Regions from separate parts of the Homo sapiens genome. Here regions 2, 3, 4 and 5 are each linked to region 1. The links are contacts of gene promoters, found by promoter capture Hi-C in blood cells and fetal thymus (Javierre and others, 2016). All regions are on one chromosome and are shown on one strand. The core of a region is centred on a gene start or on the middle of the fragment in contact, and the rest is flanking DNA. Distances in the headings are between cores, read along the strand shown.

Region 1 (5,421 bases), core at 749-3,248:
CAAGGAATTGTATCTCTTTTAAAACTTCATTGGGCCAGCTATTTTTAATGACTGTTTTTGATATGAAGTTATGCAGCTCCGCTTTAAGGGACTCTTAGTGGTGACTGTGGTCAAGAGTTTGTTTCTTTATATTTCCGGCCAAGCGAATGTTCAAGACTTTGCAATTGATGGACTATTACAAATAATCTGCTTGTGTCACTTTGCCCATGGCCAGAGAACAGATGGAGGCTGCTCAGGTGAGATGGCTTAGCTGCAGACTAGGGCTCAGTAGTGACTCTTAAAACCTGGGCATGAGTATTTTTAAAAAGTTGCATAATGACTGTAATGTGCAGCCAGGATTGAGAACCATTGAACTAGGTGAAAGGCTCTGTGCCAGGGTCTGATTCAAAGCATAGACAGGTGCGCAAGATCTTCAGGCTCTTGGAGCCCGGCCTGACTGGTTTTGTAATGGATATCTAGGCAGTCATAGTAAGAGGTGAAGCTAGAGGAGGCGTTGTGGAGGGCCTGAAATGTACAGGCAGAGAAGTTTGTACCAAATTTAAAAGGCAATAGGGAGCCACAGAAGGTGACTGGGGGAGGGGGGAAGGAGTAGACAGAGGTATACAGGCGTATTAAAGGGTCCAGCTTTTTTTTTTTTTGAGACGGAGTTTCACCCTTGTTACCCAGGCTGGAATGCAGTGGTATGATCTCCGCCCACTGCAACTTCCACCTCCCGGGTTCAAGCCATTCTCCTGCCTCAGCCTCCTGAGTAGCTGGGATTACAGGCACCCGCCACCACGCCCGGCTAATTTTTGTATTTTTAGTGGAGATGGGGTTTCACCTTGTTGGCCAGGCTGGTCTTGAACTCCTGACCTCAAGTGAGCCATTCGCCTCAGCCTCCCAAAGTGCTGGGATTACAGGCGTGAGCCACCGCGCCTGGCCGAGTCCAGCTATTTACAGGCTAAAAAATGTACTTTATTTTATTTCTTTAAAATTTTTTATGGAGTAGACTAGCAAAGAAACCAAGCTTTCTTTTACTTCTGTACGGTCAGTTCAAGGTCAACATTCTGCAGCACTCAGGTTCACTGGTCCCTGGAGAGCAGGGACTGGCCCAAATGATGTTTGTAGTACCTGGCACATCGCATGGAACATGGCAGCCTCCTGGTAATGTTTGTTGACTGACTACATGAGTGTAGACTCTTTAGCCAACCCATCTCGATTTCGGGAGGGCTGGTACCCTGGGCCGGCCTTCCCTCTGCAAGTAAAAGCATTGGTGCTGTTCCTCTCACCGTTCGCCTTTCCTCCATTTATCCCCATCGACTGTTTCCAATTCTATCAACTCCGACCCCGTCTTCTCTCCATTCCGTCCCTCCAGCGTGCCACGCTGCCACCAGGCTGCTGGGCTCAGGCGCCAGGCTTCAAACCTGTCTTTCACCCATTGTTCAGTTTCCGGTGAGACAAGTTCAACCCCAGGTTCAACCACTACAATGACAACCACAAACGATCCCTCGCAGACACCTCGAAGAAGCCGCCCGCACGCCACGGGCCGCCAGGCCTACAAAGCAGGCACAGAACAGAGGGGCGTTTCCATTCCCGCGGTCCCCGGCGGTGGGGGCGCGAGTGGGAGCCCCTCTCCCCAGTGACAGGCCCCTCTGCGAGGGAGCGCGCAGCCCTCCGCGGGCGTGGCCGCCCTGGCCCCGCCCCGGCCCGCCCCCTCGCCAGTGAGCTAACCCCCGCCCGGCCACCCGGCCGCCAGCTCCTCTCCACGGCCGCCCGCCGCGGAGTCCTGCCGCGGGGGATGCTCCGGGTCCCACCTCCCGGGGGAGCTGCGCATTTCCGCGCGCCAGGGCGGCCCCGGCCCCGGTCCCGGCCCCGGCCCCGGCCAGCCCTCGCGGCGGCAGCCCGCGTTCCGCGTTCCCGGGAAGTTGTCTCCGGAGCCCGCGGCGCCTGGGTCTCCTCCCCCTGAGCCCCGCCCCCCAGCCCAGAGCTAGGATCCGCGAGCTGCCCGGCCCGGGGGCGTCGCCGCTCGCTCTGCGAAGCCAACGAGTCTCTGCTTCCCGGCGCGGAGCGCGCGTCCCCCGCCTGCCTGAGGACCCCCGCGCACCCCAGAGACGGCGCGCGCCCAGAGCGCGGGAGCCCGGAGCGCCGGGCGCCTGGGACCCCGCGGAGCCGCTGCCCAGCCCGTGGGGCTCGGCGGGAATGCAGGCTGCGCTGTGAACCCGGGCGCCAAGGCCATGTCCGGCGCTCGCTGCCGGACCCTGTACCCCTTCTCCGGGGAGCGGCACGGCCAGGGGCTGCGCTTCGCCGCGGGCGAGCTGATCACGCTGCTGCAGGTCCCGGACGGCGGCTGGTGGGAAGGCGAGAAGGAGGACGGGCTCCGTGGCTGGTTCCCGGCGAGCTACGTGCAGTTGCTGGAGGTAAGGGGCGAGGGCCGGGGCTGTAGGAGCCGGGGCTGCGGTCCTCGGTGCGCTCGCGTACCTGTTGCCCGTTCCGGGGATGCCGCAGCGTCCCGGTCGGAGGGGCGCCCCGGGGGGCAGCCCTTGCCGGCGCTACCTGTAGCTCCACGCTCCTGGGGGGCAGCGACGGCAGCGGGCGCCCCTCGGGGCGTGGGCAACGCGGACTCGCGGGGAGCTTCCACCTTGCGCCGGGCCTCCGGAGCACACCGTGGCTGCTCTGAGGAAGCGAGAACTTGTTGCCTGTGTGAGTTAAGGAGCAGGCGGGAGCGTTCCCGGCAGTGGCAGGGGCCGGTGAAGGGTCTGGCGGTCTTGGGAAGAGGCACGGAGGATCAGGGGTGCGAGAAAGTGGCACCGACTCGGTCCCGCAGCCCCGCGTCTCCACCCCGGAGTCTAGAGCCTGATGACCCGTGGACGGTCGTGCTGCCTTGGGTCAGGCTGCCTGGCCGCCTCGGGACCACCCACTTGCTGGTCAGCCGAGCCTGCTGGCCACCAGCCCGAGCCCCCTCAGCAGGCTTGATCCTGGGGTGCCGTAGCACCCCCCGCCACTGCCTGCTCCCCTGGTCCAGCTCCCCGAGGCTAAGGCTCAGAACCCGAAAGTGGCTTGTTCCTGGGGTTCTGGCCTGGCCCCAGGGCTGCACAGGACCTGCTGAGGCAAGGCGGCTGGCTGTTTATTGTCTATGTGACAGGCTGTCCTCTAATCACTGAGCTCGCAGTCACAGCCTGAGTGAGACCCGAAGTTTCTAAAGTCCTTTGTGTGTGGGGGGGTGACCTTCCAGGACATCCCCTTTACTAGAAGCCCGCCTGCCCCCAGGATTCTTGTAAAGACTAAATTAACAGTTACCTTCAATGGTGTCAGTATTCCTAAACATTCTGGTAAAACACTGCCGGAAGAAATCATGGAGGCTGAATTTATTTATTATTTAACTCTTGACCTACTTCACAGAGAAAGTAGCAAATTTTGACTGAGAATGCTCAGTGCAATTCATCGGGGGCGGGGGGAAGAAAGAAAGAAGTGAAATGGTTACAGGGTGAGTCCGCCTGAGGATGTATCCTGTGGCAACATTGTCAGCAAGAGCCTGGCCTTATAAAAGTACATTAGATTGCTTTCAGGTCCAGAGAACAACAAAATCTCTCCTAAAGGCATCAGTAGCATTTGAGCAAAGTTTAGGGGCTGCTGGAATGAGCTTTCATGGGCTGTCAGCAGAGTATGTTGCAGGAACCCTCTTGGTTCTGTATCTGGAGAATCCGGAGATACCCTACTTGTAGGAGAGGCTCAGGTGTGCCCTGCCCTGGCTTTTCCAGTTCCTTTCCCGAGATTCGGATGTAAAAGAAAGCGAACGTATTGCTTCTTACATGAGAAGCAAGGGGCCTCCTTGTTTCTAGCTTGAAGCCCTGGGATAGATACGTATTTTGGGAGTTCTTCGGGTGGTCACCCTTTTCCAGGAAATTCTGATGTGGAAATTTGGCTGATGGATGTCTGTCCGGTGAGGAGCATCCCTGGCTGGACTGAGCCAGCTGTGTTTTGTGTAGGGGTGAGGCTGGGTAGGTGTTAGTTAGCAAGAGTGGAGTGCTGCTTTTTCTTCCGGGAAAGGGACGATGGACCAGGGCCAGGGGACAAGCGGAATTAACAACTGGGACAGTTTTGGGTGTGTCTGTCCCATCCTCTGGCATATACAAAGGTAAGAGATCTCTGGTGTCTCAGGGCCTCTCAGACCATTCCTGACTAGTAACTTGCAACAGAAGCATCCATCTGCGTGAGCAATACTTCTGAGCACCTGCTTGGCACAGTGTGTGCACGTTATCACCAGTTCCCTGACAGCTCTGTGAAGGGTGAGGTACTTCCCCCATTTTATAGACAAGCAAGCTGAATATGAGAGAGGCGAAGTCAGCTCCCCAACTAGTAATGCTTGCGTGTTTTGTTAGCAGCTCAGATGACTGAGTATCACCCCCTGCGCCTGTGCCTTTTTTAAACATGATAGCCCGGGCTCAACTATGCCAAACAGCGTGTGAGCGAAGGGTCTGGATCCATGGGGAAAAGGGGCATGCGCAGCCCCTGAGGTCAGCATGTTGGTGACAGCACCGCGAAGGGGAGGCTGAACCTCTAGGGCTAAAACGAGGACAGCTGCATCCAGGAGCAACTTGGAGGATCTTCCCTGCTAACCCCAAAGTGTGACTTTACTCAGAACCAGCTGGGGGTCTTCCCACAGTGGGCCCGAGTCCTGTATCCTAAGTACTGGGTGGGACTCTTCTCAGGGCCAAAGCAGATGCAGTTTCAACAGGGGGGCATGTGGGTCAGGTGCTTGGCATCTGGGAACCTCCTACATGAGCAAGTTGGACCTCAAGGCTGAAGGCTAGGTAGAGATAGAGGACATGCAAGCAGAGTTGCTTGGGATGGGGTGAGTCCTGAAGGGCAGACTCAGAGAATGCAGAGGTCCCCAGGCTGGTGGGTAGACTGGCCAGCATCTGGACTCATGAGACTAGAGAGGGGGCCCATAGATACTGGAGATGGCGAACCTCATGAGATGTCAGCCAATGTGGTGCTGTCACTCAGCTTGCTTGGGAGCATGGAGTTCAGAAGGCCAGGGCAGCTGTTGGAGAAACAAGTACAGACAGATGGACTGTACTAGCCTCCTGGCCTAGGGATGGGATTGTGGGTACACAGATGAATATGGCATCTCTAATGTGCTCCCTACTCCAGCGGAACTTTCACCCTGATAGAAAGAGTGATACTAGGAAACCCCATCTTGGTGGAGGGGAGGGAGGCACTGAATACTGTGTGCACACTGGATACTTCCCAAGGAGATCTTCCTTGTTCAGATGAAGCAAGGGGAACCGAGAGACCCAGCCTTTGCAGGAAGCATACACGGGGGAGGGGAGTTGGGAGCTAACTCCAAGAGAGTCACCAGATCTGACCCAGTGGCCAGCTAGCCCTTGGGAGGAGGCCAGCTTGGAGGAGGTCTTGGTTTTTGGGGCAATCTCTTTGGTC
Region 2 (5,421 bases), core at 1,437-3,936, 230 kb after region 1:
TAGAGTAAAAAAAAAGTAGGACACACATTGCATATATAGTCAGTCTTATTTGGCAGAAGGAAATCTATACTTATCTATACTTAGGAAGAAGGACTAGAAGGAAAACTGGAAAACGTACGGTGGCTCTGTCTGCGTCTGAGATCATGGCTATCAATTGGGACTTTTGACAATGTCTGGAGACGTTTGGATTGTCACGCCTGGGGAGGGGGGGTGCTACTGGCAACTAGTAGGTGACACCAGGGATGACGCTGAGTATCTCGCAAGGCATGGGACACCACAGCAAAGAAGTGCTCAACTTGAAAACATGAATCGTGCTGAAGTTGAGAACCTTTGGTCTAAGATCATGGGTCATTTTATTTTCTTTACACTTGTTGTTATTTTTCAAATTTCCTAAAATGAACACATTTTACTTTTATAGAAGGCAGATACAATTTTTTACTTAAAAAAAAAAAAAAAAGCTACAAAGTAGGTACCAGTATGGGGAATTCAGGAGAGGCGAGCTCTGGAGATGCAGGCCCGGGTAGATAGTGGCTGCCTAAAGACAGGCGGATTGAGTCAGACTCTTTTTGGATGGTAACCTTGGGAGCTGAGGTGTCATCAGGGTAACAAAAATAAATCATGTAGTATATGGAGAGGGCGAACGTGCGTTGTTCACCAGTCCCAGGATCAGGAGGTAGAATGTTATTCTTTTAGGCTTTGAAAGGGTAACATTTGTATATAAAAGCTACTACTTTTTTAAGTTAAAAATAATTAGGAAACAGGGTGTCCCTGTGTTGCCCTTGCTGGAATGCACTGGCTGTTCATGGAGGTGATCGTAGATCACTGTGACCTCAGCTTGGAACTGCTGGGCTCAAACAATCCTCCCGCCTCAGCCTCTGGAGTAGCTGGGACTGCAGGCGCCGGCCACCACGCCCAGCTAGCTACTACTTTTTGTCCTGGTTTGTGAGCCTGCAGGCTGGTTATCCAAAAAGGTGCCAAGAGTTAAACATACAAATAGGTTAAGAAGGTTTGGTGTTTACAGAGAGCTCTACCAACAAAGGGTCCCCAGGTATAGACCCCACTCCAGCATGCAGACGAGTAGATTCACCATCCCTGCTGTCAGTTATCACTCATGATAACTACACTTAAACATCAATAAATGAATAAATGAGCAAAGGAACACTTGAGATGCGGCATGTGGGGTGGATAAAGTGGCATGTTCAGGGTTACAGTGACGAAACCTAGACTGGAAAGCCCCAGATCTCAAAACCCGGTTGTGATCTCTTTCCGCCCCCTGCTTAGCTGCCCCTCCTTGAGCAAGCTGATCAGGAAGATTAGAATTTTGGGGGGAGGGGGCGGTCGTGGTGGCTCAAGCCTGTAATCCCAGCACTTTGGGAGGCCGAGGCAGGCAGATCAGGAGGTCAGGAGATCGAGACCATCCTGGCTAACACTGTGAGACCCTGTCTCTACTAAAAATACAAAAAATTAGCCGGGCGTGGTGGCGGGCACCTGTAGTCCCAGCTACTCGGGAGGCTGAGGCAGGAGAATGGCATGAACCAGGGAGGCGGAGCTTGCAGTGAGCCGAGATTGCACCACTGCACTCCAGCCTGGGCGACAGAGCGAGACTCCATCTCCAAAAAAAAAAAAAAAAAAGAATTTTGGGGGGTGGGTGTCGGGGGATGGGGAAAGGGACTTTCCACGGACACCAGTAACGTGTCCCCACCATACTATGTCATGGGGAGGACTGATAGTGGGTGCCCCACAGTTCCTGAGGGTGCCTGCCCCGCTCCTTCACTCAGCCCTTGGAGACCTGGATGGGTGGGCACAGGAGGTGGTGATCTGGTGCCACCCAGTGGAGGGTTTCAATTCTGCAGCCCTGGGGCAGTCGGCCCAGGTACTGGGTAAATGCAGCCCACCTGATTCGGGGGCAGAGGCGAGGGATCAAAGGCGAATCATCTTTTTTTATTTTTTATTTTACTTTAAGTTCTGGGATACATGTGGAGAACGTGCAGGTTTGTTACATAGGTACACATGTGCCATGGTGGTTTGTTGCACCTATCAACCTGTCATCTAGATTTTAAGCCCTGCGTGCAGTAGGTATTTGTCCTAATGCTCTCCCTCCTCTTATCCCCCACGCCCCGATAGGTCCTGGTGTGTGATGTTCCCCCACCGGTGTCCATATGGTCCCATTGTTCATCTCCCACTTATGAGTGAGAACATGCGGTGTTTAGTTTTCTGTTCCTGTGTTTGCTGAGAATGATGGCCTCCAGCTTCATCCATGTCCCTACAAAGGACATGAACTCATTCTTTTTTATGGCTGCATACTATTCCATTATGTATATATGCCACATTTTCTTTAGTCTATCATTGATGGGCATTTGGGTTGGTTCCAAGTCTTTGCTGTTGTAAATAGTGTAGCAATAAACACGTGTGCATGTGTCTTTATAGTAGAATGACTTATATTCCTTTGGGTATACTCAGTAATAGGATTGCTGGGTCAAATGGTATTTCCGGTTCTAGATCAAAGGCTAATAGTCTTGCTGCCTTTGCAGAATCGCGTCCTAGTGGGTCCCTTCCCTTCCTGCCCACCAGTGCCTGGGCCTTTTTGTGATCCACCTTTCAATTGTTCTGGCTTCTCACGAACTTCCCAGGAAGACCCTCTAGACACAGGAGAGAGGAAAGAGAATGGGACGAAGGGCTTGGAAACTTGAGGGACCCATTGGAGCATGGAGTTCAAAGTGGAGAAAGAGGTGAGATGTTTAATCTCCACCACCTCCTACCTACCTCAATAATTCAATAACACATGTTCTTATTGAGCAATTTCGGTCTTTGTCAGGCACTGAGACACAGGTGATATCTATAGCCCTGCGTTGATGGAGTTTTATGGCTGGTGTGGGAGAAACAGTAGATAAATAATGGTGCAATTTCAGCAGTGACAAAGGCTGGAGGAAGTGGATGCTGTGAGAACCTAGCCTGGTGCTGGAAATGTCAGGAATTAAGGTACCTTAAGAAAAGATACCTATTCTAAGACTGGAATGATGAGCAAGGGTTTCACTTGGCAAAGAGGTGGGGAAAGAATAGCTTTCCAGGGGAGGGAATAGCATCGTGGATGCCTGGAGGCAGCAAGGGGGAACCGTGTTTACGCATAGAGACCCAGTGTGGCTGTGGCTTACTAAATCAGCAGGAATAGGGAGGGTGGGAAATGAGGCTGGGGTAGTCTGCGCAGGCCTGCCACGAGGAGCTCAGGGGTTATCCTAACTGCACTGGGAAGCCATTGAGGGGTTTTGTACAGGATCCCACCTGCTGAAGGGATGGGACCCAGATTATTTGCAGGGGGGGAGGAAATGGGCTGAGAAGACATTTGGAGTCGGGGGCCTGCTGAATCACTTGTGAATGACCCACTCCAGTTTACCAAGCACTTCCTGTGTGGTATCACCCCCTGCCAGGCCTCAGGGTGATGCAGAGATGCCCAGGTGGGGTGTCCTGACCCCTGGGCAGGCCTTTACAAAATAAATGGAAGGGAAGAGTTCTCTGGAATCACAGGCAAAGGAAATTTAAAACAAATACTCTTATTATAGGCATTTGCAAACCTTTGCAAAAGTAGAGGGAATATATAATAAGGTACCACAAATCTGTTAAGCCCAACGATTACCTGCCTTTGTCCAATCTTGTTTTATTTGTGCTCCCATCCCCTCCCCCAATCCCCTTGCCCTCCACCCCCTAGATTATTTTAAACCACATTTCTGACTTACTGTTTTAAATGCAAATATTTCAGAATGTATCTTCCAGGAAGAAGACATAATGATAATACCATTATCATATTTAAGAAAACATTAATTCAATAATGCCGCCTAATATATACACTCCAGATTCCTCAATTGTCTCAAAAAATGCCTTTTTTTAAGAAAGAAAAAAGAGAGAGATGGGGTCTTGTTCTGTACCTCAGGCTACAGTACAGTGACACCATTATAGCTCGTGAATTCTAGAACTCCTGGGCTCAAGCGATCCTTCCACCTCAACCTCTCAAAGCCTAGGGTTACAGGTGTGCGCCACCATACCTGGCCCCCAAATCCCTTTTATGGCTGCTTTTCTCCCCAGTCCAGGATCCCTTCAGGTTCACACACAGATACACTGGTTGCTGTGTCTCTGTTGTTTCTCTCTCTCTCTCTCTTCCCCCACCAAAAAACTGCTTTATTGAGCTGTAATTCACATACCCATACAATTCACCCATTTAAAGTGTATACAATTCAGTGTTTTTTACTATATTTACAAAGTTTTACAACCATCATCAAATCTATTTTAGAACATTTTCATCAACCCAAGCAGAATCACCTGAAGACTTAGGCAGCCCCTAATCTTTCTGTCTCTATGGGTTTGCCTCTTCTGGACATTTCATATAAATGGTATCATACTATCTGTGGTCTTTTGTGTCTGGCCTCTTTCACCTGGAATTCCAAGGTTCATTCACATCGCGGCATGGATGAACACTCCATTCCTTTTTATGACAGAAGAATATTCTGTCGTATGGATAGAACGTTTCATCCAAGTTGTTGCCTGTCTCGTTGCCTCTACACTCAATCCCTTACACCTTTTTTTCTTTTTTTTTTTTTTCATCACCTTGACGATTTATTTTTGAGGAGTCCAGGTCAGGTGTCTTATAGAATAACCTGCGTTCTTGGTCTGACTGTTCTCTTATGCGTAGGTTCAGGTTCTGGAGTTTGGGCAAGAATAGCTGGACAGGGCATGTGGGGTTCTTTTTACTGCATTTGGGGGCACAACCACCCAGGTTGGCACCCTACTCATGAGGCTCAGTTTGCACTCTCGGTTAAGGTGCTGACTGCCAGATTTCTCCTTTGCAGGGGTACATTTTCCCTTTCTAATTTGTCAGTCATCTGTGAGGTGCCAGTGTAAGACCCTGTGAGTATCCTGTGCCCTGGCAGTCTTTCCATCCCCTGCTTTCAGCATCCTTGAGGATCATGGCCTGAGTCCCCTTTGAGGCTGGGGTTTGCAAATGGTGGTCATCCAATTTCTTGTACATTTTTTATTGGCATTCTTCTGAAATAAATGTTCTCTCCCTTCCCCTTTGGAGTTAGTTAGTTAGTTGCAGTCATTCATTCATATTTGTGCTCAAATTGTCGCAGATTTGGCCTGTGGTAGCCCTTTAAGTTGTTTATGTTCTTTTGTTATCTCTCCATTATTCTCTGAATACTTTCTTACCTCTTGGTACAATAGGATATTCCAAATACCTGCCTTTGAAATTAGTACCAAGGAGCTTCCGGTAATATTTGGAAACCAATTTCTAGCCAGTAGATGTTGTCACTGTGATGAGATGTCATTCCTTCTGGGCCCTTTCAATGGAGAATTATGATAGTGTGTGTGTCACGTGTGTGTGTGTGTGTGTGTGTGTGTGTATAAAATGCACGTGATATGTATATGAAGTTG
Region 3 (5,421 bases), core at 1,159-3,658, 220 kb after region 1:
TTTGATTTGAGACAAGGGGATTGGTGGGCCGTTGATCCCCTCTCACCCCAGTCATTAGATGTGCACCCTGCACCCCTACTCTAGGCATAGCCTTGGGCACGGCAGCTCTCTTTGGCTAAGGGCGGTTCCCTGAGAGGGACTCAGCTATGAGCCTCTGCAGCTAGAGAGATTTGGGTGGTGCACTACAGCACCCACTCTAGAGAGTCTGGGGAAGAACTCTTTGCAGGGAAGAAGAGCAATCTTGATAGGCTGCATGGTGGAAGAGACATTTTAGTTGAGACTTGATGAGTGAACAAGGTTGTGATATCCAGGGATGGGGGAGCAGGAGGCGGCAGGTATGGGTGAACAATACGGGAAAGGCGTATTTAGAGATCGGCGAGGCAAGTTAACTGGGCCTGAAGTGAAGCCAGTGGGATGTCAGTCTGGATGCAGTCAGGGTTGGGATCCTGGAGCACTTTGCCAGGAGGCCAGTGGACTTCGGAATTGATTCCGTGTGCCATGTTGGAAAGGAGCTAGCCAGGGATTTTCGCTGTGAAGTGACCTCCGGCGAAAGCTGGGCTCTAGGGTGAGTGGTCCACTAGCTGTGAGTGGACGGATTTCAAAAGGCAGGGAGACTGGCTCTGGAGTGACATGGAGAAGACAAGAGGAACGTGATGGAGGGGCATCTCCAGGCCCTGGGAACCAATTAGATATGAGGGATGGGACATAGGGTGGAGCTGGTGATGGTGAGTGAGCCCTGTCCCTGGTTGTCCAGGGGCCAGGGAACCCAGGAGACTCGGAGGAGAGGGTGGAGAGGGGAGCCCGGTCTTGACTCTGTGGATGTGAAGGCAACAGTGCGGCCTCCAGGCAGGGCTGATTCAACGGGCAGGAGAGAAGAGAAGCCTGCCTAGGAAGGAGCCTGAGGCTGGATGGTGCATCTGCTCCTGGGGATGCCCACCTCGCTGCTTTTGCTCATCGAAGCTCCACCGGGCTTGTCTGTCTGTTTTATTTAGTGCTGAGAAAGCACATACCATGTGCCCGATGTTATCCTAAGTGCTTTGTACAGGTGAACCCAATTAATGCTCTTTCCCAGCCTACTTAGGTACCATTTTCATCCCCATTTTATAGTTGAGAAAAACAGAATATAGAGTTCAGATGATTCCAGAGGTCACTCAGCGTATGAATGGCTTATGACGTGGGCCCTAAGCAGGGCAGTGGTCTTTGAAGTAAGTTCTCCAAGGCTTCCTGCTCTTGCCAGCCAGTGGGTCCCTTGGAGAAGCTCCTAAGCCTGCTGGCAGCCTCTCTCCTTGTCACTCCTCATAAAAGACCCTACTACTGTCTGGTTTATGTTCACACCGTCTCTGCTTTCCAGATCACCCTCAATTCTGTTTTCTCTCCCTTAAGACATGAAGGGACCATATTACCCCTGTTATGCCTGCCCCTGGAGTCCAGGTTCACCCTTCCTGAAACCCAAACCATGGGCCTTGAGACCACCAATCACACCTAGAGAGCGGGAGTATTGGGGCCTACGAGACCAAGTAGCCGAACCTCTTTATTTTGGATGAAGCATCAGAGGACCAGAAGGGTGGTGCGATTTGCCTAGGGCTGCACGGTAGTTTAGGAGCAAAGTTGAGTCAAGAACCCAGTTTTGTTTTTATTGTTTGAAACAATTGAATTTTCAGTAATGGAATTTTTAACTAAATAATGTTATATCCTCATATCAGACTAACTTTAAAAATGACTTAGCGCTAGAGGCATGTATGTGGGCCTTTGGTATTGGTACAGTATCTCCCTTGGGTGGACACCTTATTGAACTCATTTTACATAGGAGGAAAGGGAGTCACAGAGAATAAGTAGCTTGGCCAAGGATAGTGGTGGTGAGAGGCAGAGCTGGATTCCAACCCAGGCAGTCTGGGTCTAGAATCACCACACTAAACAGAGCCTAACTACTTTGCTATACCGCCCCCTTCAGTGATTTTGGAAAGTTTTTAAAATTTATTTTTATTTTATTTGTTTATTTATTTTTGAGATGGAGTCTCACTCTGTCACCCAGGCTGGAGTGCAGTGGCATGGTCTCAGCTCACTGCAACCTCCACCTCCCAGGACCAAGCGATTCTCGTGCTTCAGCCTCCTGAGTAGCTGGATTACAGGCACACACCATCGCGCCCAGCTAATTTTTGTTATTTTTAGTGGAGATCGGGTTTCACCATGTTGGTCAGGGTGGTCTCGAACCCCTGACCTCAAGTGATCCACCCGCCTCGGCCTCCCAAATTGCTGGGATTACAGACATGAGCCACCGCGCCCGGCCTATTTTCATTTTTTGAGACAGGGTCTTGCTCTGTCACCCAGGCTGGAGTGTAGTGGCGCCATCATGGCTCACTGCAGCCTCGACTTCCCAGGCTCCAGTAATCCTCCCAGCTCAGCCTCCTGAGTAGCTGGGACCACAGGCACGTGCTACCACACCTGGCTAATTTTTGTATTTTTGGTGGAGATGGGGTTTCACCATCTTGCCCAGGCTGGTCTCAAACTCCTGAGTTTAAGCAATTCACCCACCTCAGCCTCCCAAAAGTATTGAGATAAGACGCATGAACCACTGTGCCTGGACAGATTTTGGAAAGGTATTCACAAAAATTTATACATAAAAAGAATCTATAGTTTGATTTTGTCTCATTTTAAAGAGAAACATATGCTTAGAAAACAAATCAACATATGGATACCAAAATGTTGATGGTGATGACCTCTGAATGGTGGGATGATGGGTGATATTTATTTTTGTGTGTTTTCCTGCATTATCAAATTGTATGTAGTGAGAAAGTATTATTTTTATCACTAGATAACTTCATAAGAAGTCTCTGCTCATGGCAGTGAAATGGGTAAAGTAGTGTTTGGGGGACAATACTATAGCTTGCAGTATTAGTTTTCTCTCTTTCTTTGCTTTCTTTGCTTTCTTTCTTTCTTTCTTTCTTTCTTTCTTTCTTTCTTTCTTTCCTTTCTTTCCTTTCTTTCCTTTCTTTCCTTTCTTTCTTTCTTTTTTTTTGAGGCAGAGTCTCATTCTGTCTCCCAGGCTGGAGTGCAGTGGCACAATCTCGGCTCACTGCAACCTCTGCCTCCCAGGTTCAAGGGTTCTCCTGCCTCAGCCTCCTGAGTAGCTGGGATCACAGGCACGTGCCACCACGCCTGGCTAATTTTTGTGTTTTTAGTAGAGACAGGGTTTCACCATGTTGGCCAGGCCGGTCTCGAACTCCTGACCTCAAGTGATCTGCCCACCTAGGCCTCCCAAAGTGCTGGGATTACAGTTGTGAGCCACTGTGCCCGGCCAGTTTTATTTCTGATTAGAGCCTGTAGCAGGGCATTGGAAGAGAGAGAGGTGACCAGGCAAATTCAGCAGTTACAGCTCAAATGAGACTTAGAACTGCGAAATCAGGAAGAAACTTGGAAGTCACCACCAGGTGGCAGAGGGCCCCTGTCTCTTTACAGGCTCCTGCACCTCTGTGCTTTGGAGTTTCAGGTAACAGTGGACATTTGGGGAGAAATACCTGGTTGGCAACTTCAGGGTTCCAGGAGAAGAGTCCAGAGCCCCGAGACAAAGTAGGGGTGAATGAAGAGGCAGGTTGGGGCAGAGGATATTTTAGAGGATCTTGACATCTCAACAGGAAGTCCATCTCCTTCTGGCCCCAGCCTCATCAAGAAGGGCCCCCAGCAAAAACAAGCTCTGTGGTCATGGGATGGTGGAAGGGGGCAGGGGCCAGGAAGGGAGATGGATGGATATGGGAGCAGAAAGCAGGGTCCTGTCTGGCCAGGGTTGGGGAGGAGGGCGATTGGCTGTCTCTCTTTTTCTCCAGCTCTGAGCATCTCCTTCTGCTCTGTGAAACTCAGGTTCTGCCCTGTGACATTCTCAAAGTGATTTTCTTTGCTCTTCTTTCACCAGAGACCACCTGGGAACGTCCCAGCAGTTCTCCTGGGATTCCAGCCAGCCCTGGCTCTCACAGGAGCTCTCTGCCTCCAACAGGTAATGTCCGCTGTCTGCTTTGGGGCAACTGGGAGGGCCCTGATGCCACATTCAGTGGAGAGGCTGAGATGATGGGTCCTGGGTCTTAAACCTGGCTGATGTAGCAAACCCAGGGAGGGGTTGGGCCTGGGAGAGGGTCCCTTAGGCCTGCTGCCAAGCAGGTTGGTGTCTCCCTGGCAGTGCCAGCAGCAGCTCTGGTGGCCTCCTGCACACTCCTCCTCAGGCGCTTAGTGGGAGGAGATGGCTGGGGGAGGTGAGGTGTCAGAGCTCTTTCCTGTCTGTCAGGGGCAGGAAGACCTGAAGTGTGGACAGAACCACCCTATGTGGCTCTTGTGGACATCACGGAGTAGAAGCTAAAAGGAGGTAGATGTTTACAAGGCAGCTTTCAAATAAAACACCTGAAACAGTGTGAGGGAGACCTTTTGAGGGTGTGAGTTCCCCATCTGCAAAGGTAATCAAGCAGAGGCAGTTGAGATGGACGTTCTTTTTTGTTTGTTTGTTTGTTTCTCTTTTGAGACAGGGTCTCATTCTGTCACCCAGGCTGGAGTGCAGTGGTGCAGTCTCGGCTCACTGCAACCTCCCCTTCTGGGTTCAATGGATTCTTGTTCCCCAGCCTCCCGAGTAGCTGCGATTGCAGGTGCGCACCACCACACCCGGCTAATTTGTGTATTTTTAGTAGAGACGGGATTTCGCCATGTTGGCCAGGCTGGTCTTGAGCTCCTGGTCTCAAGTGATCCACCTGTTTTGGCCTCTCAAAGTGCTGGGATTAAAGGTGTGAGCCACCGCGCCTGGCTGAAATGGACATTCCTATAATAGGTGGGAGGTTTGTTCAGGGGCCTCTTGGGAGACATCTAGGTCTGAGATTCTGGAAGGCAGGTTATGGGACCCATCAGCAGGGAGAACAACATCTCCTTTCATGTGGCTTTTTAAAAATGTCACCTCCTCCAAGAAGCCTTCCCTGACCACTCAATTTTGAGCCCTCATGCAGTCACTTTAGATCTCAGCCGCATGCTATTTTAATGTCCCCATCATCCTGTTCCTAGTTGACCTTCACTCTCCCATGCTAGACTGTAAGCTCCCTGAGGGTGGGGACTTTGTCTGTTTCTTTTGTGATATCCTCAGTCCGCAGAGCCTGGCTTCCGTGTTGAACTAATTCACCAATGTCTCCACCATCCTATGGTGTGTGGAGCACACTTGTTGGTTTTCGACTTCAGGAGTCAATCTGGCAGCAAAGCATGAAAGTCAAAGTTGTGGTTGGGGCTGGGAATTTAATCTTCCAATGCCTTGAGCGTGACATCCTCAGCTTCTGTGGAAGGGAGGTGAGAGCCTGTGTAAAGTTTTCAGAAGAAAAAGTAATCCCTGGTCTAAATAGTTTACCTGAAGCAGCACAGGGAACCACAGGAAGGACCAAAGGTAATCACAGGACTCTGGAA
Region 4 (5,421 bases), core at 1,672-4,171, 150 kb after region 1:
TTTTCCTGTTAGCCCCGCAAGTCACTGATTTAAATGTTTATATTTGCAGTTACCCACAACTACAACTAAATATGGATTTAAATGAGCAATTTTTATATAATCCTCACCTCGTCCACTATCTTCTTTGTCATCCTTTTTATTCGAACTGCTTTTTTTTTCCTGTTATGATTTGCTGTTCCTCTTTCAAAGAAATCACAGCTTCTTACATTCTGACAGTTTCCTGACAGTTTTTCTTCTGAATGATTTTCTGAGACGTGCTCTTCCTTTGTGCTTTCAGGATGGTGTTTCCTCACCCTGCTTTTGCATATTTCCCCTCTTTATGCATTCTTGACACGGCAGGATCTATGTAAACGTGGCATGTACCAACAGAAAGTATCGACTGTCACTAGCCTTGGCACACTGTCGGCTTGGGGGAAGGTTGACTTCCCCTCACAGCTACCTGCCTGTAGGGTTCGATGGTGCACCCATCTCTCAGTCCAGTTTCTGTTTTCGAATTGGCCTTTGCCTGGTGAACTGTCACGTTACTATCTGGTCCTCTGATACTCCGAATTGATGGAGAACATGAAAACTCACAGTTCCTGGGGTCTCTTCTCAATGCCCTGCAGCCAGGGCATTGGCTGGGCTTGGCCTGTAGCATCTGTACCTTTCCGAACAGTGAGCACCCCTCCCACGCCCCTTGTTCTACCCTGCACTTCCTGCTCTCTTGTTTTCTGGGACTTGCTGTACCTAAATGGATGATGGGCAGTCCTCTCAGACAGCATCTGTGCTGAGAGGAGAGGGCTGGCTGCTCAGTGTTCAGGTCAGTGCAAATCCTGCATCTCAAATTAGAGACATGGAGTGGCAGAGGCATGAAGTGCAGCTCAGATTATGGGCAGAGAGTGGTGAAGGTGTGAAGTCTTATTTCCCCTTTTACAACTCATCTTGGTTTGCAAGATTTTCTTTTCTTTTCTTTTCTTTTCCTTTTCTTTTCTTTTTTCTTTTCTTTTCTTTCCTTCCTTCCTTCCTTCCTTCCTTCCTTCCTTCCTTCCTTCCTTCCTTCCTTCCTTCCTTTCTTTCTTTCTTTCTCTTCTTTCTTTCTTTTCTTTTCTTTTTTTTTTTTTGAGACAGAGTCTTGCTCTGTCACCCAGGCTGGAGTGCAGTGGCGTGATCTCGGCTCACTGCAACCTCCGACTCCCAGGTTCAAGCAATTCTCCTGCCTCAGACTCCTGAGTAGCTGGGACTACAGGTGCCCGCCATCAAGCCTGGCTAATTTTTGTATTTTTAGTAGAGACGAGGTTTCACTATATTGGCCAGGCTGGTCTGGAACTCCTGACCTCATGATCTGCCCGCCGAGGCGGGCAGTGTGCTGGGATGACAGGTGTGAGCCACCGCGCCCAGCGGTTTGCAAGATTTTCTGCATTTCCTTCATTGGCCTCATGGTTCTCGAGTTTTTTTTTTTTTCCTCCGATTCTGTTTGTCATTTTTGGATTTTGTTTTTAAGATTGGATGAGTTATTTCCTGTTCTTTTCCTCTTATTGCTGGTTTGATAGGCAGTGTCCTGGGGCAGCTGTCAGATGCTTCTTACAGGGAAGTCCCCTGCATCTCCTTTTGCCATGCCCTTAATCTCCCAGAGATTCAGTCACACGCCGGGTACCGTGTTCCTGTCGTTGTGGGGACGTAGTCAGTAGAGAATTCAAGTTCAGTTTTCTGGATTAAAAAAAAGAATCTCCAGAACCACTTTGTGGATGCTGCATGGTGACTTGATGTGTAGCCAGAGACAGTGTTTCTCAAAGTGTGCTGAGTTTCCAACTAAGGATCCGTGAGATAATTTTAGATCATGTGGAGATGACAGTTTTAAAGTTATATTTATTTTAGTGTGTAGTAGAAAGAAACCAAATCAAATCTGTGATTTCATAGATATTATTGCTTAGGGCCAGACTACATTTCAGTGGGATATAAGTCAGTTCGAAAAAAATATTGAGTAAATAATAGTGCGGCTGGTACACAGTGATGGATGGAACAAGGTGTCACAGTGGGATATGAATGACTGCAGGAAGGGGAAACCAAGCTGTGGGATCTCTTAGAATCAGGGCTGTTTGGAGGCCTTTTCAACTGGGTGCCGTTTCTGATATGTCCACTTGATACTTGGGAATTTTTTTTGAGATAGCGTCTCACTCTGTCGCCTAGGCTGGAGTGCAATGGCGCGATCTCAGCTCACTGCAATCTCTGTCTCCTGGGTTCAAGCAATTCTCCTGTCTCAGCCTGCTGAGTAGCTGGGATTACAGGCGACCACCACCACACTCAGCTAATTTTTATATTTTTAGTAGAGACGGGGTTTCACCATGTTGGCCAGGCTGGCCTTGAACTCCTGACTTCAGGTGATCCACCTGCCTCGGCCTCCCAAAATGCTGGGATTACAGGCGTGAGCCACCACACCCGGCCAATACTAGGAATCTTTTATGGGGTGGGACACATAGAAATTTTATAAGGGTCCTAGGACTCTACCATGATATGTACAAGAAACTGGCTGCAGTCACCTCACGGGAGCCCTCTGCCCAGCACAGCCCTTGGTCTGGAGCCAGCCACAGTCTATGGCCTGTCCTCTTTCTTGTTCTCTTCTTTAATGGCATCTTATCTAAAGATCTTGCTTCCCTTTGCATCCTATGCTCATAGGTCCTTGTGTGCCTGTGATCCAAGTCTACACCCATCACTCTTCCATATTTCTCTTTCCAAGATAAATGAGACACACCCTTTCTGTATTCAGCGAGCATTTTCTTTGGCATCTCACTTGGACACTTTTTTTTTTTTTTTTTTTTGAGATGGAGTCTCGCTCTGTCGCCCGGGCTGGAGTGCAGTGGCACGATCTCTGCTCACTGCCAAGATGAAGTGATTCTCCTGCCTCAGCCTCCCTAGTAGCTGGGATTACAGGTGCCCACCACCATGCCCAGCTAATTTTTTGTATTTTCAGTAGAGATGGAGTTTCACCATGTTAGCCAGGATGGTCTCCATCTCCTGACCTCATGATCCGCCCGCCTCGGCCTCCCAAAGTGCTGGGATTACAGGCGTGAGCCACCGCGCCTGGCCGGACACTCTTAACTACAGTTGACCCTCAGACAATGGATTTGAACTGCACAGATCTACTTATATGTGGATTCTTTTCAATTAATATATTGGAAAATATTTTTGGAGATTTGTGATAATTTGAAAAAAATTGAAGACAGACTACCTAGTCTAGAAATACCAAAAAAATTTAGAAAATGTTAGACATGCCGTGAATACATAAAATATATTCGATACTAGTTTATCATTTACTACCACAAAATACATACAAATCTACAGAAAGTTAAAATTTTTAAAATTTTACCCACACAAACACTCAGACTGTGTATGGCACCATTCATATTTAAGCAAAATGTAAACAAAGGCAAAGATGTAGTATTAATCATAACTGCATAAAACTAGCCATAGTATATACTGTAGTAACTTCATGGCCACCCCTAGTTGTTATTGCAGTGAGCTCAGGTGTTGAGAGCATCGGCTTGTCATGTGATGCTGATCAGCCCTGGATGAACAGTTCATCACTCCAGTAAATTGGGTATCGCAGTAAAATGTAAGCCCTCACTGTTCTATGTATTTTTCATCATGTTTAGTGCAATGCCATAAGCCTCGAATAACACCATGGGACCCATAGAGTGTGCCACTAGTGATGCTGAAAGCATTCCCCAGAAGCAGAGAAAAGTCCTGACATTACAAGAAAAAGTTCAATTGCTTGTCAGGTACCGTAGACTGACGTCTGCAGCTGCTGCTGCCACCATTTCAAAGGTTTCATCTTTTAAACAGATGATGTAAACTTATGGCATCAGTAAATACAGTACAGTACTGTAGGTGTATTTTCTCTTTCTTATGATTTTATTTATTTATTTAGAGACAGGGTCTCACTCTGTTGCCCAGGCTGGAGTGCAGTGGAGCAATCTTGGCTCACTACAGCCTCAACTTCCAGGGTTCAAGAATACTCTTGCCTCAGTCTGCCTAGTAGCTGGGTCTACAGGCATGCACCATGCCAGGTTAATTTATTTTTATTTTTTATCTTCACTTATTTTTGTAGAGATGGGCTCTCACTCACCAGACTGCCCAGGCTGGTCTCGAACTCCTGGGCTCAAGCCATCCTCCCACTTCAGCCTCCCAAGGTGTTGGGATTATAGGTGTGAGCTACTGTGCCCGGCCCCTTATGATTTTCTTAACATTTTATTTTTCTCTAGCTTACTTTAGGAATAAAGTCTGTAATATGGATAACATACAGAATACATGTTTATCAACTGTTTAGGTTATCGCTAAGGCTTCTAGTCAGCAGTAGGTTGTTAGTAGTTAACTTTTGAGGGAGTCAAAAGTTAGGTACAGATTTTCAACCACATGGGGAGATGGGGGTTAGCACCTCTAAACCCTCGTGTTGTTCAAGGGTCAGCTGTACTTATTTCTTCTTGTATCCCCCCTCTTCATTTGGTTTCTCTGCCTGATTCTCAGAACTCACATCGTTCATTCCCCATGTAGCCCCTGAGTGTTGAGCACTAGTCTGGTTAGAGGTGAAAAAGATGAAGACCTGGTTCTTGCCTTTGAAAGTCTTGGAGAGGGGCCCTGGGGGTGTTGCATGCACTAATGAAAGGCACAGGAGAGGGAGGGATTGGGCCTGAGGCATGCTGGGGGAGAATAATTCTTCTCCCACTGCTTAAGCAAGAGCATGCCCCAAGGTTCAGCTCAAGGTCCTTTCTTTCTCTGTGAACTCCTTGTCAGCCTGTAGGATCTCACCACCATCTCTGAGCAGATGCCTCCAGCTCCAGCTCCATGTGCCAAGGGCCAGACTCACCCCTACTCCCCACCGAACACTTTGAACTTGGATCCATGGTCAACAGACTCTACTGCATCCCCCTAAACTGGCTGTCACCATAGCCACATCTCTTCGAGTTACTGGTTCGAACTTCTGTCATTTCCTTCCGAATCAACTTCGCTGTCTCTCATTTCCTTATGTCCCGTCCTTTATCAAACCTTATTCTGCTTCGTACATCATGTTCCTCGGGCTCCAGTCAAGCCCTTGTTTTTTATCCCTGCTGTGAGGCAAGTTCTTTATCTTTTGGGAAGCCTCCCTGTACCATCCCAGCCAAGAGTGACCTCGCCCTCCTCTGGATTCTGAAAGCTCTTATTGTCTGCCAGCTTATCACATAGCATTTGGCACTGTTGAAGACTCCTTTGATACTTATTCCTTTTTTTTGCCCATGTTTGCGACTTAGCTTCCGAATTTTAGGAGTCAGGTCCTACATACAATACCTGCCTGCATCCCACACAGGATTCAGGAAAGGGTAGTTAGTAACTATTAGTTGGTTGATTGATCATGCAGACAGGGGGCCACGTATGGAGGAAGGGGGCGTCCCTGAGACCCTGTACCCTAGA
Region 5 (5,421 bases), core at 1,737-4,236, 130 kb after region 1:
AAAAAAAAAAAAAAAAAAAGAAGAGAGAGAACGAAGGGAGAGCTGGGCTGGGAGGCTGGGCAGCTGACCCAGGCTGGTGGCTGGATGATTCCCAGGACTTAGTGGCCACAAAAGTTGGCGAATAAATGAGAATGAATGAGAGAGGAAGGAGATGGAACAAACCTCAAGACTGGGGATAGAGGAGTGGGGTGCATAGAAAGCTAGGAGTCCCTGCTGGGACTAATGAGCTCAACAGGGCAGGTCATCTAGTGCCTATGGTCTAGTATAGCATTTCCCGAGATGCTGTGCCAAGATGGGTTTAGGTGGTCTCTGGACGAGACTTTCAGTACCAGTGAATCACATCAAGAGAAGGGTATTCCTTTTGCAGTTCTCTCCTTGCTTCTGATTACATTGAGGAGAAAGTTTTGGGAGGTGCCGGGTGAGGGCAGGCCTCAGCAGGTAGCAGTATCCAGCAAAGATTGAATAACATTGCTTGGTGTTTGTTGTGGTTATTTTTATGGTTATTATAGATTTCTGGCAAATGTCACTAGTTTTCCATTCACAGACTCACATCAATTTTCTGTTCAGTGCAATTTTTAAAAGAAAAAAGTGAGTCAACTAAAAATATTAGCAAATAAGAGGAAAAAGTGGTATGAGAGTATGCTGAAAATTAGAATGGTGATCAGTGAAAGATAGGCTCCCGGGAGATACTGGGTGTGGGAGGTTCAGGGTCTCCGGCTGTGGGGTCAAATGGACCACAGTTCAAACCCATTAACACTGTGACCTTGGGCAAGTCGCTTTGCGTCTCTAAGGCATAGTTGACTCCATCATAAAACATTAATATTAAATGAGCTCATGCTTGTCATGTGCTTGGCCCAAGGCCTGACCCAACATCATAGTAGTGGTGGTTATTATGTGAAGTGTTTATTGGCATGAAATACTGAACTCAGAGGCTGGTGTTCCTGGACTAGCAAGGATCACAGGCCAACATGGAAGAGGAAGCTTTGTGAGGGAGTGAGCTCTCTGTCCGCACAAGTGTTTGAGAGGCTTGTCACCTGTTGAGGATTTAGTGGCAGGATTCTGCCACTGGATGGGCAGACAAAAGGGGAAATCCCTTCAAGTAACCATTCCACGGACATGGTGCAGAGAGAGTCAACGTAGCAGGCCGGGGAGCCCTCCTTAGAAAGGCCTGCTGGCAACATTGTTCCTTGGCTGGTGTCTGGGAACTTGCATTTAGGAAGGGCTCCCACTATTCCCTGAATAGTAAGGGTGGCTGTTCTCTAAACTGTTCATGTGAGTAATACGGTTTGTGCTGAATACCTGGATTTCTTCAGGGAGTCTGCAATTCATGTTTGTGCTAGGCAGGGGATGCCTACATGACCAGCTCCTTATAAAAACTCTGGGCACTGAGTCTGTAATGAGCTTACCTGCTAGACAGTGTTTTACACATGCTACCAGGACTCACTGCTGGAGGAATTAGGCACATCCTATGTGACTGCTGGGAGAGGACTCCTGAACTTGCGCCTGGTTTTCTCAGGACCTTGTCCCAGGTTCTGTGTCCCTTCACTGATTTTGCTTTGTATTTTTTTGCTGTAATAAGACCCTTAAAAAAAAAATAGAGACAGGATCTCACTCTGTCACCCAGGCTGGATTGCAGTGGTACGATCCTAGCTCACTGCAGCCTCAAACTCCTGGGCTCAAGCAATCCTTCCATCTCAGCCTCCCGAGAAGCTGGAACTGTAGGCGTGTGCCACCATGCCTGGCTAATTTTGTGATTTTTTTTTTTTTTTAAGAGACAGGGTTTTGCTATGTTGTCTAGGCTGGTCTTGAACTCCTGGCCTCAAGTGATCCTCCTGCCTCAGCCTCCCAAAGTGCTGGGATTACAGGTGTGAGCTACTGTGTCTGGCCATAAGTCTTTACCAGAAGTAAAACATATGCTGAGTCCCATGAGTCCTTCTGGGAAACATCAGAGCTGAGGGTGGTTTTGGGAACTCCCAGCATAGCCTGCCTCTGTTTTCAGGTCAGGGAAGGAAACCCAGGGCTTCATCTGGGTCAGTGGGTCATCCTGGTTCAATGGGTCAGGGGCTTTCTAGCAAAGGTTCCGCAGAAGTTCTCCTAGGATCAAACTTAGGGAAGCGCCCTGAAGGAGTTGATGATGCTTCTGGGAAGAGCCGGCCTATCAAGTGCATATGGGGGTGCCTGTCCCTCTTTGGGGTGCTGTGTGATGTCACTGTGCTTCGTACAAAGCAGCTTAAAAGGTTTGGGAGGAAGTATTGGAGTGTGTTTATGTGTGGCTGAAGTCTCAGGTATGGTTTGTGTTAAGCCTCTGAAGGACAGAGCACAATCCCAAAATAGTTTTCATGGGAATGACCAAGGTAGAGACCATTGGTTTGGACCTATAATATCAGAGAGGCCACACCCCGATTCTTTACAAAACGTAACAGTGACCACACCTCAGTGGTTAGTGTCAAGGTTAAGGAATGTTGATATCAACTTTCCTCCGAAGGACCTGATTCAGTTATGTATGAATCTATTTCTCCCGGTCTGAGCCTCTGTTTAGACTTACAGGAGATGGTTGATGGTCTCCGATCAGGCCCACCCTGAACCAGGGCTGGGCAGGGTTAATGGAGAGTGTCTGGGATGTATTTTCAAAGAACTGTCATGGTGTAGGGGGACTAGGACAGGTGTTTGCAGACATTCCTAGCTTGAGGTTGGCCTGATTATTCTGTGTGAATCACCAGGCAGGTATTCAGCATTGGTCCTATTGGTCTTCCTTCTGATTACCCCCTAGCCAGAGGGGGTGGGGGTATAGGGCTGAGGTAAGCTCAGAAATGGGGCACTTGGCCAGGTGTGGTGGCGGGCACTTGTAATCCCAGCACTTTGGGAGGCTGAGGCAAGATCACAAGGTCAGCAGTTCGAGACCAGCCTGGCCAACATGGTGAAACCCCGTCTCTACTAAAACTACAAAAATTAGCCAGGTGTGGTGGCATGCGCCTATAGTCCCAGCTACTTGGGAGGCTGAGGTAGGAGAATCACTTGAACCCAGGAGGCGGAGGTTGCAGCGAGCCGAGATCGCGCCACTACACTCCAGCCTGGGCAACAGAGCGAGACTCCATCTCAAAAAAAAGAAGTGGGACACTTGTCTGCATGAAGAAGTGAAGGGAGTTGGAATAAAATGGAAGGCAGAGGAGCCTCTGCTGTGGTGGGCTGGAAACTCCACTCCCGCCACCCCATCCCTCCCCCATATTTCATCAGAGCCTTTTGTAAAGGATGGCAGAACCATGGAGCTGGGAGAAGGAGCTATCACTTGCCTGCAGTGTCAGCAAAGAGAGGCCAATTTTTAATGCTTTGTGTACATTATTAACTCACTTGATCCTTGTAACAGGTATTATTATTAATACTTACATCATCATTATTATTTTTTGTCTTCACGGGAATTGCTGACTTGAGATTGTCCAGCTAGATCAAGCAACTTGTCCTGGGAAAGCATGGATTTGAACCCAGGCAGTCTGGCTCCCAAGTCTACTCTCTTCACCACTACACTGTCAGGACTTGGTGACCTAGAAATGCTCCCCCTGACTCCAAAATTCAGTGACCCCAGGAGCCAATCCAAGCAGAGAAAGGCTGTCCTGATGTCCTGCAGAATGACAGTCACATCTCAGGCTTTCAAACTACTTATATGTTTTTTCCTAATTAATAGACCTTGAAATAAACAGTTAACTGTTTTTAAAAAAATTGACCTTGTAGGCCAGGCACAGTGGCTCACACCTGCAATCCCAGTGCTTTGGGAGGCTGAGGTGAGGGGATGGCCTGAGGCCAGCTGTTCAAGACCAGCCTGGGCAATATAGCAAGAGTCTGTCTCTGCAAAACAAAAAACAAAACAAAAAAAAGTAGTCTGGCCAGGCTGGGTGTGGTGGCTCACACCTGTAATCCCAGCTCTTTGAAAGGCCGAGGCGGGCGGATCACCTGAGGTCGGGAGTTTGAGACCAGCCTGACCAACATGGAGAAACCCCATCTCTCCTAAAAATACAAAATTAGCTAGGCGTGGTGACGCATGCCTGTAATTCCAGCTACTCAGGAGGCTGAGGCAGGAGAATCGCTTGAACCCGGGAGGCGGAGGTTGTGGTGAGCCGAGATCATGCCATTGCACTCCAGCTTGGGCGACAAATTAGCCTGGCCTTGGCTCCTTGTCACAGTCTCTCTTGTGCTTCTTCAGTCCCTACTTTCCTCTCCCTCCCATTTCCACTACAGATGGTGCCTTCCTACCCTACGCCATAGCAATCTGGTCACTGGGGAAATGGGGTTATGGAGAGGGGTATACTGTAATTCCCTTCATCTTATCTCAAGGTCAAGTTACATTTTGGCCCCAAGCATACAGCCCCCTAACTTGAGCTCCGGATAGACCTCCTTTGGGGCTCCCAATCCTGCTGAACCTCCCTGGCACTCTGTGCTCTTGCATATCTTCCACTCTGAGTCCAGCTCCAACATTCTGGCTATTTCTTCTTCCAGTGTTATGTGACTGGCACAGTTGGCCCCAGAGGTCCCAGCCAGGAGGACCTGGGGAAGCATCAGAGGTATTGACAGCAACATTTCTGATCCATGGTCCAACTTGGCCTGATGAGGGCAGCTGATAGTGGCTCTCCAAGATTGTCTACGTCCTAATCCCCAGAACCTGGGAATGTTATTTTATTTAGAAAAGAGTCTTTGCAGGTACAATGACGTTAAGGATCTTGAATTGAGAAGGTTTTCCTGGGTTATCTGAGTAAGCCCTAAATGTAATCACAAGCATCTTTATAAGAGAGAAGCTGAAGGAGATTTGACTGTAGATAGAAGACAAAGGGTATGATTGGGGAAGTAGGATTTGAGTGATGCAGCCACAAGCCAAGGAATGCCAGCGGCTACCAGGAGCTGAAAGAGTCAAGGACTGAGTTCTCCCCTTGACCCTCTGGGAGGAGTATGGCCCTATCAATACCTTGATTTCAGCTCAGTGATACTAATTTTTGGAAGCTTGGCATCCAGAACTGTGAGAGAATACATTTCTGTTGCTTTAAGACACCAAGTGTTATAGTGGCCAAAGGAAGGTTTTTAGAAATGCAGATATCTTTGGAAGAGAAGCTTACCCACAAGTGCAGGCTCAAGAAAGGAACCAAATCTCTAAATTCTCCCTGCTTTATGTTCTTTAGTTTTGATTGTTGCTATCTGTATACCTTGCCCTTTACCAAGGAACTATTAGCCAGGACTCTTTCTATTAAATGTTACAGAAATCCTATTCAGGCTTAGACCTGTAATCCCAGCTCTTTGGGAGGTCAAGGCAAAAGAATCACTTGAGCCCAGGAGTTTGAGACCAGCCTCAGCAACGTAGTGAGACCCCCATCTGTATAAATAAAAAATAAATTCACTAGGTGTGGTGGCACACACCTGTAGTCCCAGGTACTTGAGAGG

Evidence for each region. The method cuts DNA at HindIII sites, captures the fragments that hold promoters and counts their contacts. A CHiCAGO score of 5 or more calls a contact.
Region 2: a contact is called between a fragment that was not itself captured here and the fragment with the promoter of GAS7 in region 1, in 9 of 17 cell types (neutrophils, monocytes, M2 macrophages and 6 more). The highest score is 26.6, in neutrophils.
Region 3: a contact is called between a fragment that was not itself captured here and the fragment with the promoter of GAS7 in region 1, in 11 of 17 cell types (monocytes, neutrophils, M2 macrophages and 8 more). The highest score is 27.8, in monocytes.
Region 4: a contact is called between a fragment that was not itself captured here and the fragment with the promoter of GAS7 in region 1, in 6 of 17 cell types (monocytes, neutrophils, M1 macrophages and 3 more). The highest score is 15.8, in monocytes.
Region 5: a fragment that was not itself captured here is called in contact with the fragment with the promoter of GAS7 in region 1 in 8 of 17 cell types (neutrophils, monocytes, M0 macrophages and 5 more); the score reaches 17.1 in neutrophils.

What each region holds. Positions count from the first base shown.
Region 1 is chr17:10,195,183-10,200,603 of GRCh38, reverse strand. GAS7 (growth arrest specific 7) reads left to right here and starts at 1,998. Exons shown (of 14, transcript NM_201433.2): 1 at 1,998-2,396. The coding sequence starts at 2,214. The HindIII fragment of the contact is 8,346 bases long and covers 1,009-5,421 here.
Region 2 is chr17:9,962,209-9,967,629 of GRCh38, reverse strand. All of the region lies in intron 4 of GAS7 (growth arrest specific 7), which reads left to right. Among named protein-coding and RNA genes, the nearest start is that of RCVRN, 60 kb to the right of the region's middle. The HindIII fragment of the contact is 7,970 bases long and covers 1-5,421 here.
Region 3 is chr17:9,980,371-9,985,791 of GRCh38, reverse strand. It overlaps GAS7 (growth arrest specific 7), which reads left to right. Exons shown (of 14, transcript NM_201433.2): 3 at 3,908-3,988. Among named protein-coding and RNA genes, the nearest start is that of RCVRN, 78 kb to the right of the region's middle. RefSeq lists an enhancer at 4,141-4,642. The HindIII fragment of the contact is 8,587 bases long and covers 1-5,421 here.
Region 4 is chr17:10,042,415-10,047,835 of GRCh38, reverse strand. All of the region lies in intron 1 of GAS7 (growth arrest specific 7), which reads left to right. Among named protein-coding and RNA genes, the nearest start is that of RCVRN, 140 kb to the right of the region's middle. RefSeq lists enhancers at 1-29, 528-707. The HindIII fragment of the contact is 7,290 bases long and covers 1-5,421 here.
Region 5 is chr17:10,064,940-10,070,360 of GRCh38, reverse strand. All of the region lies in intron 1 of GAS7 (growth arrest specific 7), which reads left to right. Among named protein-coding and RNA genes, the nearest start is that of GAS7, 130 kb to the left of the region's middle. RefSeq lists an enhancer at 1,482-1,981. The HindIII fragment of the contact is 4,005 bases long and covers 984-4,988 here.